Linked DNA regions of Homo sapiens: region 2 is linked to region 1. Evidence: promoter capture Hi-C in 16 types of primary human blood cells and fetal thymus (Javierre and others, 2016). All regions are on one chromosome and are shown on one strand. Each heading gives the region's core, a stretch centred on a gene start or on the middle of the fragment in contact. The rest is flanking DNA. Distances are from core to core; before and after follow the strand shown.

Evidence for each region. Contacts are between HindIII fragments. The CHiCAGO score rates a contact against its expected background, and 5 or more counts as called.
Region 2: a fragment that was not itself captured here is called in contact with the fragment with the promoter of NOD1 in region 1 in 6 of 17 cell types (neutrophils, total B cells, naive B cells and 3 more); the score reaches 9.5 in neutrophils.

The regions. Positions count from the first base shown.
Region 1 is chr7:30,476,295-30,480,772 of GRCh38, forward strand. NOD1 (nucleotide binding oligomerization domain containing 1) reads right to left here and starts at 2,490. Exons shown (of 14, transcript NM_006092.4): 1 at 2,312-2,490. RefSeq lists an enhancer at 1,986-2,730 and a silencer at 2,379-2,618. The HindIII fragment of the contact is 7,069 bases long and covers 1-2,935 here.
Region 2 is chr7:29,961,131-29,965,608 of GRCh38, forward strand. All of the region lies in intron 2 of SCRN1 (secernin 1), which reads right to left. Among named protein-coding and RNA genes, the nearest start is that of FKBP14-AS1, 25 kb to the right of the region's middle. RefSeq lists an enhancer at 1-324. The HindIII fragment of the contact is 522 bases long and covers 1,956-2,477 here.

The sequences.
Region 1 (4,478 bases), core at 1,240-3,739:
ATATTACTTACTGTTTCTATTTCTGATGTCTAATCTAAACAGCACTGCTGTTAGGATCAAAGTGACCATCCATGATGCACAGAGCACGTACCAGGGTAAAGTTCCAGCTGGGACGCAGGCATCAGCAATTGTAGAATTTGGGTTCTCCCTTCCTCAGATCCCTGACTGTCCTTGGTCATTCAAGAAAGATTCACTGTCCCTAGGCCAAGAGTCAGGAGCAAAACAGGAACACCAAGGGTATGGTCTGAGGATGTTGTCAGCAGGGAGCAACGTGCGTGTGTGTGCACATACACTAATTCTGAGACACTGTGCACAGCCCAGCTTTCTTGGAAAGCCATTTAAAAGATATATATGTGGCAACAGAGAGGAGGAAGTCTCAAGATTAAGAACAGCTTTTGAGTGTGTGTGTGTCAAAATATTCATTCCTATCACATGCAGTAAAACTGTATTCCAGAGCCATTAATACGCCCTGGGGGACTGAGGGGATTTGCAGCCTAAGATTTCAGACTTAAAGCCCGCTAAGGCCCTGAGCGGGGCAGCAGGGCAGGAGAAGGAATGGAGCGTTGAAGGGAACATTTTATAGACATTCTCCCTCATAGTGGCTGTACTAAGTAAACAATTAACGGGCACAAACTGCCACTCCAGTGTCTAATAACTACCTCTGCCAGAGCACCTGCCAGCGCCACCACCTTCCAGGTGTGTGATGCACATCATCTCGCTGAACTATGCTAGCCTCAGGAGAGGGTTGCTCTTTATTTTACAGGTGGGAAAACAGGGGCTTGGAGAGGTCAAGGAACTTGCCCAAAGTCACAGCATAGAAGTGACAGAATCCGAGTTTTGACCCAGATTTGATGGGTTCCAAAGCGTGAACTTATTTCTCCACTCCACAAAAATAAAACCTACTCTTCTTACAATATTTGAAAGAGCCCTCTTCTACCACTCTGCTGTTTGTTTTAAACACAGCTTGCTTATCTGTCTGGCATATTCGGTAGAAGTCTGTACTTTGTCAATGCCTGGTTTGCCTGGATTTCAGCTACCTGGCCCCTGGCATCTAAGCCTGGGTGAGAACAGGGAATCCACTCCTCTCTAAGATGCATCGTGGAGTTACTCTTTTACTCTTCCCTGAAAGTGATAGTTCAATCTTCAACAGGGGCTTTGAGGGAGAACAAACTCGACCCTTTGGCAAGCACGACTTCTGGCTTCACCGTTTTTTTGTTTTTTGTTTGTTTGTTTGTTTTTGACGGAGTTTTGCTCTTGTTGCCCAGGCTGGAGCGCAACAGGGCGATCTCGGCTCACTGCAACCTCTGCCTCCCGGGTTCAAGCAATTCTCCTGCTTCAGCCTCCCGAGTAGCTGGGATTACAGGCATGCGCCACCACGCCCGGTTAATTTTTTTTTTTTTTTTTTTTAGTAGAGACGGTTTCACCATGTTGGGCCAGGCTGGTCTCGAACTCTCGACCTCAGGTGATCCGCCTGCCTTGGCCTCCCAAAGTGCTGGGATTACAGGCGTGAGCCACCGCGCCCGGCCCTGGCTTCACCCTTAAAGCAGAAAGGCCAGAAGTCATCAAGGCCATGGGTTTACTAGCTTAGCTTCCCCAGACTTAATTTCAAACACCAACAACCGAAATGTTTCCTAGAATGCAGAGCTAATGAGACATCAACCTCTGTCATTTCCTATGTTTTTCACAATGTGCCAAAACAACTGCACACATTGGAGGCGTTTTTGAATGTGATATTCAGGCGACCTTGCCAAGCATTGTCTCATTTCCTTACTTTGTGGAGCATGAAACCCAAGGGAAGTTCTCACCCTCTCTCCAGGACCAAGCAGGACACTGGGAGCTGCTGTCCCGTCTGCAGGCGGGACTCCATGAAGGCCCCTGTCTGCCCTTCCAGCCTTTGCCACAAACCCTCGAACGCTGGCTGCACACTGGAATCACTTGGGGAGCTTTTAAAAGATACGGAGGCCTGGGTCTGACTCCGTGAGATTCTGATGGAATTGATCTAGGGTGCAGCCTGGATATCTGGATTTTAAAAGCTCCCCAGGTGGTTCTAAGCTGCTGGCACGATTGAGAACCCCTGCGTTCGACCACAGTGGGATAAACGATTCCGCTGACTGTGAAGTTCATCCCTCTCAACTTTCGCTACATGCTTCAAACTCGCGGGTTTCTCCGCTTGGTTCCACCCAGAGCTCCTCCAGAGCCGCGCTGCGTTCCGCCCGCACGCAAATCCCGCCTCCCTGCGCCTCCTCACTCGCAGCGCCCAGGACCTCAGAAAGGGCCTGCCCCGCGCGAATCCCCAGTCGCTGGGACTTACTTGGCCACCAGGTTTACAGACTTCGCAGCCGCTGAGAGCTAGAGAAGAGCCCGGAGAGCGCCATGGTCCGGGGACGCCGGGGCCGGGAAGCGCCGTGGCCCGGGAGGACGCTGCTCCCGCAGTAGCGCGAGGGAGGGGCAGGACCGGGGCGGCTGCCTCGCGGGCCCGGAACGGGAACTGGCTGCGACTACAGCCGCAGCCGCGCCCCTCTGTTGGCGCGCCCAAGAGCCTGCCGGCTGCTGGGAGAGGCCGCCGAAGGGCGGGGGCGGTCAAGGCAGGGTCCCACGGTGCTGCCATTCGCCCGGGTCTGGCGCGGGGGGGCGAGAGAAGCTGCGCGCAGAGGGACGCCCGGTGCGAGAGGGTGAGCCCCTGGCCACCGCGCAGGGCCGAGTGGACAGGCCCAAGTTCGCCCAGAGGTGACACACTTGGGAATTTGTGGTGCCATCGTGCCAGGTCCCTCCTCGTAAAAGTGCCTACCCAGCGCCTGCAACCAGAGCCAAAGCCTGGACATGATAGGGAAACTCTTGTTAAAACGCGACACGTGGTCCTGATGAAATGGAGGTTAACGTAATCAAATTTAAATTACACTGCATACATTTCAATTTATACTTTTTAAAAAATGTAAGCTTTTCTTCCTATCCTTAAATTTGTTCTTGGCAGTGTACATTTTATGTTCTATGCATATGCTCTAATAGGTTGTAAAAGAGTTTTAACATGCTAATAAATGTCCCCAATAAAATAGTTTTAAAACGTTTTGAATGGGGATCGTGTCCATAAGGGATATCATGCTACAGAAAGTTGTCACTTACTCACACTGAAGAAGTACATTCAATCATATAGCCACTGATGCTTGTGAGTATTAAAATTCCCATCAGAGGCTGCCCTCTGAGAAACAGAAAGTATGTTCTTAAATCAAAAGTGAAAGTGCAAACTAAAGTTGATAGGATCAAATGTGCCAACTTGTGTCAGGCCTCTGAGCCCAAGCCTGCATGTATACATCCAGATGGCCTGAAGCAACTGAGGAATCACAAAGGTAGTGAAAATGGCTGGTTCCTGCCTTAACTGATGACATTACCTTGTGAAATTCCTTCTCCTGGCTCAGAAGCTCCCCCACTGAGCACTTTGTAGACCTTCCACCCCCCCGGCCCCCGCCTTGCCCACCAGAGAACAACCCCCTTTGACTGTAATTTTCCACTACCCACACAAATCCTATAAAGCTACCACACCCCTAACTCCCTTTGCTGACTCTTTTTTTCGTACTCGGCCCACCTGCACCCAGGTGAAATAAACAGCTTTATTGCTCACGCAAAGCCTTTTGGTGGTCTCTTCACACGGACACGTGTGACATTTGGTGCCGAAGACCCGGGACAGGAGGACTCCTTCAGGAGACCAGTCCCCTGTCCTCACCCTCACTCTGTGAGGAGATCCACCTATGACCTCGGGTCCTCAGACCAAACAGCCCAAGGAACATCTCACCAATTTCAAATCGGGTAAGCGGTCTTTTCACTGTCTTCTCCAGCCTCTCTCACTACCCTTAAATCTCCCTCTATTTCCAATTCCAGTTCTTTCTCCTCTCTAGTAGAGACAAAGGAGACATATTTTATCCATGGACCCAAAACTCCAGCTCCGGTCACGGACTCAGGAAAACAGTCGTCCCTTGGTGTTTAATCACTGCAGGGACACCTGCCTGATTATTCACGTACATTTCATTGGTGTCTGATCACCGTGGGGATGCCTGCCTTGGTCATTCACCCACATTCCCTTGGTGGCAAGTCAATTGTGGGTCGCCTGCTTTGGCTGCTCAGCCACATTGCAGCCCAGGGCTGCTCACCACCCCCCTTCTCCGGGTCTCTACCTTCTTTTCTCTGGGCTTGCCTCCTTCACTATGGGCAACCTTCCACCCTCCATTCCCCCTTCTTCTCCCTTAGCCTGTGTTCTCAAGAACTTAAAACCTCTTCAACTCACACCTGACCTAAAACCTAAACGCCTTATTTTCTTCTGCAATACCGTTTGACCCCAATACAGACTCAACAATGGTTCCAAATAGCCAGAAAACGGCACTTTCAATTTCTCCATCCTACATGAGCTAGATAATTATTGTCGTAAAATGGGCAAATAGTCTGAGGTGCCTGATGTCCAGGCATTCTTTTACACATTGGTCCCTTCC
Region 2 (4,478 bases), core at 967-3,466, 520 kb before region 1:
GGGTCATGGGACAATAGTGGAGGGAAGGTCAGCAGATAAACAAGTGAACAAAGGTCTCTGGTTTTCCTAGGCAGAGGACCCTGCGGCCTTCCGCGGTGTTTGTGTCCCTGATTACTTGAGATTAGGGAGTGGTGATGACTCTTAACGAGCATGCTGCCTTCAAGCATCTGTTTAACAAAGCACATCTTGCACCGCCCTTAATCCATTTAACCCTGAGTGGACACAGCACATGTTTCAGAGAGCACAGGGTTGGGGGTAAGGTCACAGATCAACAGGATCCCAAGGCAGAAGAATTTTTCTTAGTGCAGAACAAAATGAAAAGTCTCCCATGTCTACTTCTTTCTACACAGACACGGCAACCATCCGATTTCTCAATCTTTTCCCCACCTTTCCCGCCTTTCTATTCCACAAAGCCGCCATTGTCATCCTGGCCCGTTCTCAGTGAGCTGTTGGGCACACCTCCCAGACGGGGTGGTGGCCGGGCAGAGGGGCTCCTCACTTCCCAGTAGGGGCGGCCGGGCAGAGGCGCCCCTCACCTCCCGGACGGGGCGGCTGGCCGGGCAGAGGGGCTCTTCACTTCCCAGTAGGGGCCGCCGGGCAGAGGCGCCCCTCACCTCCCGGATGGGGCGGCTGGCCGGGCAGGGGGCTGACCCCCCCACCTCCCTCCCGGACGGAGCGGCTGGCCGGGCGGGGGGCTGACCCCCCCACTGGAGGATCTTATTTCTTACTCTTCTAGTCTTAAATACAGTGAACTTGACATATGGAGATGATGGCTGGATGGGACTGACTGACAAGAAGATGGAGAGAGGCTAAGTGGACAAGTTGAAGGGAGAACCGCCTGGAAAGGGGGATCAGTTGGCAGGTGGGTGAGTGGATGAATGAGGAGTCCACACGACTTTTTCCATGGTTTTTGCATGTGTCCAGAGGTTGCCCTAGAAACCTCATACTTGAGAGTGTTGAGGTCCCAGGAAATCATTTTCTGAGAATATAACCACCTAGTATATAATTAGTTTCATATAATTATTAAACACTGTAATTATTAAATAATATAATTATTTACATATAATTAAATTATACAATTATTAAATATAATTATGTATATGTAATTAAATTATATAATTATTAGATAATTGTTTATATATAATTAAATTATTATATAATAAATTATATAATAGAGGGTTATATTCTCAGAAAATGATTTCCTGGGACCTCAACACTCAAGTATGAGGTTTCTAGGGAAACCTCAGGACACATGTTTAAAATGTCATGAAATGGGCCAGGCATGGTGGCTCACGCCTGTAATCCCAACACTTTGGGAAGCCAAGGTGGGTGGATCACTTGAGCTCAGGAGTTTTGAGACCAGCCTGGCCAACATGATGAAACTCTGTCTCTACCAAAAATACGAAAATTAGCCGGCTATGGTGGCACATGCCTGTAATCCCAGCTACTTGGGAGGCTGAGGCAGGAGAATTGCTTGAACCCAGGAGGCAGAGGTTGCAGTGAGCTGAGATCATGCCACTGCACTCCAGCCTGGGTGACAGAGTGAGACTGTCTCAAACATAAAATAAAATAAAATAAAATAACATAAAATAACATAAAATGTCATGAAATGGCTGAGGAATAGATGGGTTTTTATGAAAAGTTCTTACTCTTCATAGTTTAAAAAAGTCTGTATTTTAATAGTTGCTTGTATAAAAGTTACATGATAGTAATTGTGGCTCCTAGACCTAAATATGGAAAGAACCCATCATTCTGTACTTGGTACAAGTATAGGAGATGGAGACAGATGTAACTGTAAGGGAACTAAAGGGGTAAGAGTAAGTTTGAAAAGCAGATTCAGTAGTATGTGATGTGCCAAAGACAGTTTTGGAACTGAGACCCGGAGTCACAGCAATTCTCATTAGTCAATTCTTTAAAAAAAAAAAAAAAATCCTTCTTCACAATGTTCTCCTTAAAGCTTTACAAAGTGCTTTCATGCATCAGCTCACGTGTGTCTCACTAAAGCCTGTAATGCAGGCAGAGGGGGTATTATGATCTCTATCTGGCAAATAAAGAAACTGAGTTTCAGAGAGGCTCAAAGGCCCAAGACACTATAAAGGGAGAGGCAAAACACGAACCTAGGACCCCTCTCTCCTGGGCCAGAACTCATCCTCCTAGTTTCAGGTGGTTGTAAATTTCAATTGACATGCATAGAGGAGTATCAGGCTAAAGGGAGGAGTGGATATTGGTGTTGAGGCCTGGAAGGATAAACAGGAGTCTACCAAGTAGATGAGAGGAGGGGAGAAGAAGGATCTTCTCAGCAAAGGACAGAAAGAGCAAAAGCACAGAAAAATGCAAGTGTGTTATTTGTTCAAGAAAAGGCAAGCAGTTCAGTGTAGCTGGGGCCTAGGGTACAAGCTGAGAGGGCAGAGCTAACAATGAGAATAGAAAAGTAAGCAGGAAATTGTATAACCCTTACGGAGGTCAATTCTTATAAAAGCTTTACCCTATGACCCAATGATGCTACATTTGGAAGTACATCCAATGGTATCTACACATGCACAAAATGACTTATGTACAAGGTTCTCCACAGCTGCACTTTCTGGACTAGCAAAATACTGGAAGGAGTCCAAGCATCTACCAATAGAGCACTAATTAAATGAACTATGGTACATCTCCACAATGGATTACTATGTAGCTGTAAGAAAAAAATAAGGACAATCTCTATAGAAAAATCTTTAGAAAATGTTAAGTGAAAATAGGAAAGTGCAGAACTTTTCTGTAAGTTCAAAGTTATATATTAAAAAATCATGTTTAATAGTAGTATACATAATGTGCTGCATTCACACAAAACAATAGAAAATAAGGCCTGATATTCAGTTTTTTTGGATTTGCATAAAATACTTGAAGGATATGCATGAAATTAATAAGAGTTATACAGGATGGAGACAAGGGAGGAAGACTTCTTACTGTGAACCTTTTAAATATCATTCAATCTTTGAACCACATAAATATATGATTACCTATTCAAAATGAAAAATTACATTTTAAAATGTCTTTAGCCAAATGAGTTAAAAACTTATGTCTACACAAAAGACTGCACACAAATATTTATAGCAGCTATGTTCATAACTGCCAAACTTTAGAATCAACTAAGATGTCCTTCAGTGGGTGAATGGATAAATAACCTGGTATATCCAGAAAATGGAATATTGTTCAGTGATAAAAAGAAATGTGTCATCAAGCTTGGAAAAGACAGGAAGAAACCTTAAATGCACATTACTAAGTTTAAAAAAGCCAATCTGAAAAGGCTACACACTGAATGATTCCAACTATGTGACATTTTACGAAAGGCAAAAGTATGGACACAATAGGATCAGTGATTTCTGGGGGCTAGGGTGGGTGGGTGAATAGGTGGAGCACAGAACCTCTAGGACAGTAAAAGTATTCTCTATGATACTACAATGGCTTGTCATTATACATATAGGTATACCCACAGGATATCCAACACAGAGTATAAACTATGAACTTTAGTTAATAATACTGTATCAGGCCGGGCTCGGTGGCTCACATCCATAATCCCAGCACTTTGGGAGGCCGAGGCGGGTGGATCACTTGAGGTCAGGAGTTCAAGACAGGCTGGCCAACATGATGAAACCCCGTTTCTACTAAAAATACAAAAATTAGCCAGGCATGATGGTGGGCACCTGTAATCCCAGCTACTTGGGAGGCTGAAGCAAGAGCATCGCTTGAACCCGAGAGCTGGAGGTTGCAGTGAGCCAAGATTGTGCAACTGCACTCTAGCCTGGGCGACAAAGCTAGACTCTGTCTCAAAAAACAAAATATATATATATATATATACTGTGTCAATATTGGCTCATCAGTTGTAGCGAATGTACCACATTGATGCCAGACGTTACTAGCAGGGTAAACTAGAGGGCAGGGTAAGGGGCTGTTTGGGAACTCTCTGTGCCTTCTGTTCATTTTTCTGTAAACATAAAACTGCTCTAAAAATAGTCTATCAATTTAAAATAGAAAAGAATGAAAGAGAATAAAAGAAAGGAAAAGTGAGCAGGGTGCCAGTTGGGAAGAGTTCTGAATGGCATACAAATCAGCTTGGACTCTCATCCTGTAAACAAAACGAAACACTTTTCAGCAAGGGAGTGGTAGAGCTATCTATGTTCTGGGAAGAAAATTCTGGTAACCCTGTAGGGAGAAGAACCCAGGAGAAAGAGACCCAGGGACAAATGAGAAGATTGTAGCAGAAAAGAGATGGACTCAGTCTGAACGAGTCAGGGGCAGCGGGGAGGAGATGGACAAACAAGAGAGGGGGCAGCGGGACTCAGTGACAGCTGTCCCTGTGCATTGGGGATGGGGGAAGTGAGGGTCGACGTTTCCCGTGGGCTTCTAGTATAAACTACGTGGCCGACAATGCATATGTTGTTACAGCAACATATATGAGCTGGGGGAAATGAATTTGCTTTCTTACCCGTGAGGTT